Regions from separate parts of the Homo sapiens genome. Here region 1 is linked to region 2. The links are contacts of gene promoters, found by promoter capture Hi-C in human tissues and cell types (Jung and others, 2019). All regions are on one chromosome and are shown on one strand. Each heading gives the region's core, a stretch centred on a gene start or on the middle of the fragment in contact. The rest is flanking DNA. Distances are from core to core; before and after follow the strand shown.

The links. Contacts are between HindIII fragments. The study calls those that stand out against the background at their distance.
Region 1: a fragment that was not itself captured here is called in contact with the fragment with the promoter of SPATS2 in region 2 in 1 of the 25 tissues and cell types used here (hippocampus).

What each region holds. Positions count from the first base shown.
Region 1 is chr12:49,231,405-49,235,577 of GRCh38, reverse strand. It overlaps a transcript of TUBA1C not described here. Among named protein-coding and RNA genes, the nearest start is that of TUBA1C, 32 kb to the left of the region's middle. RefSeq lists a silencer at 812-1,101. The HindIII fragment of the contact is 6,126 bases long and covers 1-4,173 here.
Region 2 is chr12:49,365,718-49,370,003 of GRCh38, reverse strand. It overlaps SPATS2 (spermatogenesis associated serine rich 2), which reads right to left and starts at 2,542. Exons shown (of 14, transcript NM_023071.4): 1 at 2,417-2,542. RefSeq lists enhancers at 27-166, 3,203-3,462 and silencers at 2,263-2,332, 2,363-2,412, 2,433-2,912. The HindIII fragment of the contact is 7,261 bases long and covers 2,505-4,286 here.

The DNA.
Region 1 (4,173 bases), core at 146-2,645, 130 kb after region 2:
TTTTTAGTAGAGACGGGGTTTCACCATGTTGGCCAGACTGGTCTCAAACTCCTGACCTCAGGTGATCCACCTGCCTCGGCCTCCCAAAGTGTTGGGATTACAGGTGTGAGCCACTGCGCCCAGCCTGGTCCAGCCAAGGTGCCAGCGAGTCTCTCCTGGACAAAAAATGGGGCGCTGACCTGCAACCCCGACACCTTTCCGGAAAGGGCCTTGCAGCGGCGCGGCGCGTCCAGCAGATGGCGCCCCAGCTGAATTTTCGCGAGCTGTCCTCCAAGCTTGCAGAAAAATCTGGAACTAACAGGAAGGGGAATTTTTTTTTTTTTTAAGCATTCTAATTTTCAACCTATACTGCCTTTTTGTCCGTGTCAGGAGCCCTTTTTATTCGAATAAGTTGCAATGCATTTGAGATGTCTAAAAGACTTTTTGATTACGCAATCCCAAATTAATTTTTTTTTTTTTTTTGGCCGGGCGCAGTCGCTCACGCCTGTAATCCCAGCACTTTGGGAGGCCGAGGCGGGCGGATCACGAGGACAGGAATTCGAGACCAGCCTGACCAACATGGTGAAACCCCGTCTCTACTAAAAATACAAAAATCAGATGGGCGTGGTGGCGGGTGCCTGTAATCCCAAATACTCGGGAGTCTGAGGCAGGAGAATCGCTTGAATCTGGGAGGCGGAGGTTGCAGTGAGCCGAGATCGCGCCAGTGCACTCCAGCCTGGGCAACAAAAGCAATACTCCGTCTCCAAAAAGAAAATTTTTTTTAGGATGTCCACTCTTCCAAAAGACCCAAGAGGGAGGTTTTCAAACAGCATTAATTGTCACAAGAGTTCAGAAACTTTCGCGGACAGCGATATGTGAAGAAAGGCCGCTTCTAAACAGCAGGGCGTGGCGGGGGCGCGCTCGCCGGGCCGCGGCGGAAGTGGCCTTCGTGGCGGGCGGGGCGGCGGCTGCGGCCTGGAGATAGCGCCGCCTGCTGGTCACCGGGGACAGAGCGCTCGGGGCTCGCCAGGACTGCGGCGCCACGCGGGTGGGAGCCCGAGCCCAGGCCCAGGCCCTGGCGCTGCACGTCACCGTACTAACCAAGGAAGCAAAGTCATGGACACAACCACAGCCTCCTTTCTGCTCTGCAGAGAAACCTGGAAGCCTACTCTGGTTTGGAGAGTAGTGTTTCAACGAACTTAACGGTTTTTAGCGCTTGCCACAGCTAAACAGGGTGGACTTGATTTTTAGGGTGTCCTTGTTATTTAAGACAATGCTAAAGGAGAATGAAAATTAGAACCTGGTAGGGGACTGCTTTCATTTATTCTCTCCTGCTTTAATGGGATTTACAACATATTAAAAGCAGTTATCAGAGGCAAATTGGATAAATGGGCTAGGGGTTGCGTTTCAAGGTGGAGGCGTTTGTCATTTCTGACTGTGGCCCCTCGTTTTTATTCCAGGATCGTTGCAGTGCCATTTCTAGGTCCCTCCTCCTCTCCCCACTTCCCTTTTCTCTGCACCCATTTGACAGGAGCCTCTGCAATCATCTGCTTATTGCGCGTCACCGTCATCCAGTGGGAGAGCCTTGTGGTACCACCTTTCTCCACCTATGGCTGCGGCCCGCAGGAAGATGACGGGTTGCGCTTCTGCTCTGGAGCCAGCCCTGTTGCCGGGAACTGCAACCCGCAAGATGATGCCAGAGCTCAGCTTCCCTCTTTTTATGTTGCAGAGTTTATGCTGCCCTGCACTGAGCAGACGCTTTCGCTTACGCAGCCCTGCCCTTCACCTTGCCCAGTGATTCCGGAATAACCTTCCGGACCCTCCTACTTGCAGAGGTTCGTTGCTTCAAGCGTCATAATCATTCATCTCCGTTTTTCCTCTAGTGATGAAGGCTCGTGGACGGACCACGGTTCACTCGGTCTAGGAGTCACGCTGTTGATCAGGTTGTCAGACATCAAAATTCCCATCTCCCATCAGGGCACAGCTATAGGGCTCTGGGTCAAAACAGGGCCTTCTCTTTTGTCTGGTAGCACCAGAAACACGGTAATTGGGAACCCATCAGGAATGGAAGGCTCCTTGAGGCCCTGGAGATGGAATGTTGGGCCCCCAAGTCCTGAAAGGAACCAGTGGGGCTGTAATCTTCACAATCTGGATCCAGCCAGAAGAGCACTGAGAGCTCAGTGTTTGGAGGACAAAAAAGGGCAATGGATATACAGTAACTTAGTGAATCAGGGCCCGGATCCAGGAAGATGCCTGACATTTGTTTATCAGCAGAGAAACAGAAGTAAAGGAGGGGAACCTTCTCCTAAGTGTTACTGTGTTATGAAAGTGTCCTTCAGGGAGAGGCGACATGAACAGGGCAGCTGATAACGTTGATACTGTGCAGGCACACATCTCCCCACATTCCCCAGGCTGCTGAACCAAGTGTACCAAACTAATCGCAAGGACACAGCTTTGAGCCTCCCCGGCGGCAGTCCCTGGAGAGAGTCCGCTCAGACAAAGCAAAGCGCGCTCCCAGCGGGGAGGGGTGGCCACTTTTTCTTTGTTCTCCCTTGGAAAATCGGCTGTCTCTCAAGTCTCGTAAACCAGCTGCTTTCACTTCTTGCAGGGGGTCAAAATCAATTAATCACCAATCATGTTTGGACAGCACAGTTTTGAAGCCCTGAACTCTGTGAAATGCAGGGTCAAACTATTTTTAGAATTTTAACATGCCGTTAAGTTTGTATTCTGAGTTTCCCAGCAAAAATTTCTGAAATGTGCCCCACTTTGAAAAAATAAAATAAAAAGAACACCTCCAGAAAAAAGGTGGTGGAGACAGAGTGTTTGGGATTGTACTTAACCCCAAAACGACAAGTCATACATCTTACACTTAGGAATCTCTTCTTCACAGAAGTATAAGTTACTGAGCAGATATCTTTGCCTGCTGAGAAGCCCCTTCAGCAGTAAAAGGGAGAGCTCTCTGAGAAACCTCAACTTTCTACATTATAAGTGATATTTTTTTCTCATAAGAAGGATTTAACATAGCGCCTTTTTAAAAATTCAGAATTGCCTATCCCTGATTTAAGTGGGGGATCAAGACAAAGGGTGCCTGACTTCTGTATCAGGAATAGGCGTGCCACTCCCCAAGCACTTGGAGCATCTGCTGCCTGGGCTGATTCTTAAACCGAAATCCACACGTGGCTTGACAGCTGAAGTGCCCTTTTATGTCCAGTTGGAATTTCATGTTGGGCAGGCTGCAATGAGTTCATATCCAAACAGAAAATGGGTTCTGTGGGTCAGAGAAAGCTTACTGTGCTGAGAAGGACAAGGTGGACATTTTGTAAATACTATAGGTTTATTTCCGGGGAATTTATCCGCAAAAATGAGGTTGCTTCATTCCCTTCACACAGCATCCTCAGGCCCTTTCAGACAGTTTCTGCTCTTTGGATTTCATCTGCTTGCTAAATATCCACTCCTGTTGTGTCCAGAACAAGGGACTATCTGCAGGTTACTGTGAAAGCAAGCGTTGGGTGGCCCTGAGGGCAGCTCCTCCCAATCAGCTCTTGTCCTCCTTCTGTCAGGCCCTCTGGAGGAAATGAGAGCCACCCCCAGCCAGGAAATCAGCCCAGCATTAGCGTTTAGGGATAGATGATCTAATGGCTCAGGTTCTATAGGTGACGTTCAGGCAAGCTTCTACAATAATTCTGAAGCTAGACACAGAACATATGAGCAGGTGTCCAAGAATTATGGATGCCTCTGAAAGTAACAGAAGGCCAGGCGCAGTGGTGCATGCCTGTAATCCTAGCCCTTCAGGAGGCTGAGATGGGAGGATCAATTGAGGCCAGGAGTTCGAGACCAGCCTAGTCAACATAGCGAGACTCCATCTATCTATCTATCTATCTGTCTGTCTGTCTGTCTGTCTATCTATCTATCTATCATCTATTTTTTTTAAGTAGCAGAAGTTTAAAGAAAAATAGCCATGGCACATACGTTCACAATACTACGCCGTGTTCTCTCCAGTGTTAAGGAGATTAAATTTAAAAGTTGTAAGCACTTTGAGGGCAAGAGCCCTGTTTCGCACTTCCTTTATATTTCGCACAGTGCCCAGCAAGGTATTACACATGCAGTGGTCACTCGGAATACTTAAAAAAGAAATTAGTGCTGGCTCACACCTGTAATCCCAGCACTTTGGGAGGCTGAGGTGGGAGGATTGCT
Region 2 (4,286 bases), core at 1,293-3,792:
GGCCCCAGCTGTTTCCCTCAGTTCTAGTTGTTTCACTCCTGGTTTCTAAAAGGATCCTATCTATATTTAGAGGTAATGCTAGTACCAATTGTGGGCTCAAGGGCACCTGAGTACTGAGCAGTTTTCAATTGTTTTCCAGAGTTAATTGGTTTGGCTCCACAACTGGCTGTCTTGACTTCTACAAGTAAGAGTGCCACGTATGCACAGTACCTCAGCAGTATAAGACTAAACAGAAAACTAAGTGTGGTCGCAGGACAAATCCTAAGCAAAAAGATGTTTTTAGCCCTATTTATCAGGATCCCAGACCTTTGTTAAATCACAGGAGCAGTAAACCTTCAATGAACTCCACAGAGTAGGCTACAGCCTACTAACTTAATCTTCATCTAAATCACAGTTATCAGACCCAAGTTTCAACCAGTTCATGCTGCTTTACTATAACCAAGATGAGGGTGAAGCAGAAAGAGCAAACAGGTAGTGAAGATTTTAAAAAAGGCATCCGATACAGCTAGGTCTGAATAAAGCTTTGTTATTTACTAGCTCTGTGACCTTAGTAAATTATTTAACCTCTTAATTTACAAAATATGAAATAATTGTGAGGATTGAATGAGATAATACATACAAAAAAATCTTAGCACCTTGGCTAGCCCACTGAAAGAGGTCAATTAAAAAAGAGGCACATTAGGCTGCGGTGGCTCACGCCTGTAATCCCAACACTTTGGGAGGCCAAGTCAGATGGATCAAGAGGTCAAGAGTTCGAGACCAGCCTGGCCAAGATGGTGAAACCCCCGTCTCTACTAAAAATACAAAAATTAGCCAGGCGTGCTGGCGGGCACCTGTAATTCCAGCTACTTGGGAGGCTGGGGTCGCTTGAACCCGGGAGATGGAGGTTGCAGTGAGCCGAGATCACGCCACTGCACTCTAGCCTGGGCAACAGAGCAAGACTCCATCTCAAAAAAAAAAAAAAAAAAAAAAAGAGGCACATTGTCACTAATGAGAACACTGCACTCATTTCTTGCTTTGTTCAATTTTCATAACATCTAAGAAAAGTAACAATTTAAATCATTATTTTTGGACCTTTGTAAAGTAACCTAAATGCTACCATCCAAGACCTAGCTGAGAAATACAAACTGATTAATGTCCATAAATCTTAGATGAGTCAGCAAAACTTAATGCCCAACAAATAAAAGGCTTAACATGGACTACTTAGGAGCACACAATGGTCATTACAATTTCAAAATCGGCAATTTTCTATCTAGTACAATCACAAATTTGGTCTGGAAATCCAAATATTAAGGAAATGCAAACATCATAATCAATATTCCCAAATCACCTTAATTGAAACTGGAAGGTATGAGGCAGCCTATTTGAAGTTAACATCAAGAAATAATTTAAGGCAGAACCCCAACTCTCTCCCACAAACACAAAACCAGTAGCAGATGGCACAAGAACATTTCTCAGTGAGAAATTGCAATTCTAACAAAGTACAGGTAACTTAATTTTATCCATCACCTTTTGGTCAAACTGAAAACAAACAACCAAGCTTTTGGTTCTCTCCAAAACACTGAAATCTGCATTATCACTGACCTAACTTAAAGCAAGATATTTTTGGTGATCTGTCCTCTCCTGCTTCATTAACCGTAGGTAAATTAGGAACAGTAGCCTGCTAAACAGAGGGGAAGTAAATATCACAGGCATGTTTTATCAATAAAATGGACAAGCGATAATCAAATTATTTAAAGAACGGCTTGTACTCCTTAACAGAGGGACAAGCTTGAGAAAGATCCACTTTCTAAAAGAACCTAATCATTCTGGATGAATTATGAGAAAAATATCACTGTAGTCCAAAACTGACTGAATCTACCTTTCTGCTTTAATCCAAGTCCTAACCACATCTATTTTATGTCTCTGCGTCTGTTCGCCTGATTTTCCATTTCGTCTCCCCCTTCAATTCCAAGAACGCCCTTCTCTCCCTTATTTTCAAATCTCATTATTGCCCCCGAATGCTAAGGACCTCGCACAGCCACGGAGGTGACCTTACGCATCCCTACTGCATTCCTAATTCATTGTACTTCTCATCCCAAATGATCCTATTCTTTCGTTCTATCTCGCTCGTTGTTTCTTAAAATCCAATACCCCACACACGCTCACGCCAGAGTCCCCCCCACACTCCATTGTTTCCCCGGCCTATCCGTCTGGAAACTCCCCAACTCCGACGCGGGTGTTTCACCCGCCCCACAGACCCCAGGAACCTTCCACCCTCTGGGCACTTCGGGCCTCTAAGGGCTCACATCCCCCTCCTTCCCGTCCCCCCGCCCCCAACTACCCCCTCCCTCTTTTTCCTCCCTCAACCCGCTCCCCGCACCTCGGCGCCCTCTGAGCCCCCGCCAACCCCGCCACCCAGCACCCTTAGCCTCACCTAGCCCAGGCCCCCGCAATCGCCTCGTCGCCCCAGCTCCGGGCTCCGCGTCCCGGACGCTCCCGGGTCTGAGAAGAGGAAAGGAGATCCTCCACCTCCCCTTCTAGAGCCACCGCCGCCGTCGCCGCCGCGCTCCTCCCCCAGCTCTCTCAGAGCCGGACGCCGCCCCGCCCCCACCGCCGCCTCCCCACTTCTCTCCTGGGCCGGACTGCAGGATGCTGCCGGAGATCCAGCAGATCACCCCGACCCTCGCCCAGGCAGCGGCTCGCCCCGCCCCGGAGCCCTCTCGGGCGCGTGCGCGCCAGCCAGCCAGCCAGAGCTCAGGGCGCGTACTCGCGCCGGCGCGAATCCGGCGCGCCAAGCTCGAGGCTGTGGCAGCCAACGGGTGCGCGAGCGCGGCTCGAGCGGCGAGACGGCCCGCGCACCGGAGACCGAGAAGATCGGGGAGAGGCGCGGGGCGGCGAGAGGCGGGCTCCGACCAGTCGGGTTACCGCTCTTCTCGGGGCCCGGTCCCTCGCGTCTCGCACCGTCCGCAGGCTCGCGCGCCACCGGAGACTGGGAATTACCGGGGAAAGGAAGAGACTCGGGGAGAGGGTTGGGGACAAAGTAGATGGAAGGGGAAAACGGGTGGGACGCGAGCTCGCGTCCGCGTGCAGCACAGCTCGTACCCGGCGGCATCGGTTAGGGACCCGGCGCGCGCCGGGAACGGAGGGCCCGAGCTGAACTGACGGAAAGAGCCGAAACTCCCCCGGAGGTGGCCGAACGCGGGCGCCGCTAGGGGAGTCGAGCGCGGGGCTTTTGCTCAATGTCCGGGTTGGGAAGCTTTTTCTCTGGCCGCCGGGTACAGCGCCGCTCACTCTTCCGTACCGAGGACTTCACACCGCTTTCCCCTTCGCCTCCTTCCCGACCCAAGTTTTGTTCCAAAAGGCAATTTCAGAGTCGCCAACGACGGGAAACGCTGGGGCCTCCGGACCGCGCGGTCGCTCTGCCTCCTGAGAGAGCGCAGAGGCCGGTGGGGGCGCGGGAAGAATGACCTCGGGATCGTCAGTCGGGTTTCTGATCTACCCAGCTGTCAGCATAGCCCCTCTACGCGGCGGTGGTCGGTCCCGCCGCCCTTCGAATCTTTTCTGTTAAATACTCTCTTCGACGCCAGACTCCCAACCTCCCTGGTGCTGGAACTAACTAGTATTTGTGCACCCTTTCTGCATGCATAAAGCACTTACCTCAGTGTCGACTGGTCAGGGGTCTATTAAGAGGGGCCAGAGGGATTTAGACAGTCAGCATTGAAAATATTTATTAGAATCTGGGGCCGGGCGCGGTGGCTCACGTCTGTAATCCCAGCACTTCTGAGAGGCCGAGGCGGGCGGATGACTTGAGGTCAGGAGTTCGAGACCAGCCTGGCTAACATAGTGAAACCCCGTCTCTACAAAAAATACAAAAATTAGCCGGATGTGGTGGCACACGCCTGTAATCTCAGCTACTCGGGAGGCTGAGGCAGGAGAATAACCTGAACCCAGGAGTCGGAGGTTGCAGTGAGCCGGGATTGCACCACTGCACTCCACCCTCCATCTCAAAAAATATATATATATATTAGAATTTGTCCTCATCTTACCTTTTGAGGCCAAGCAAAGGGGCTCTGAAAAGGCACCAACAAGCTGGAGAGTGTGTGTCAGTGTATAGCTAGACACCACAGGCACATGTCATTTTGGTTTCCACGTATGTTATTGCAATCACAGTACATGTAACTGAGTAGTATAGTAGAGCTTTGCCAAGCCATCTGATCCTTGTGGTTTTTAACGTTGCTTGAGGTAAGGGCTCAAAAATCGCCTGGAGTCCAATGACCTGTGGTTAGTAATGTCTCATCTACTCC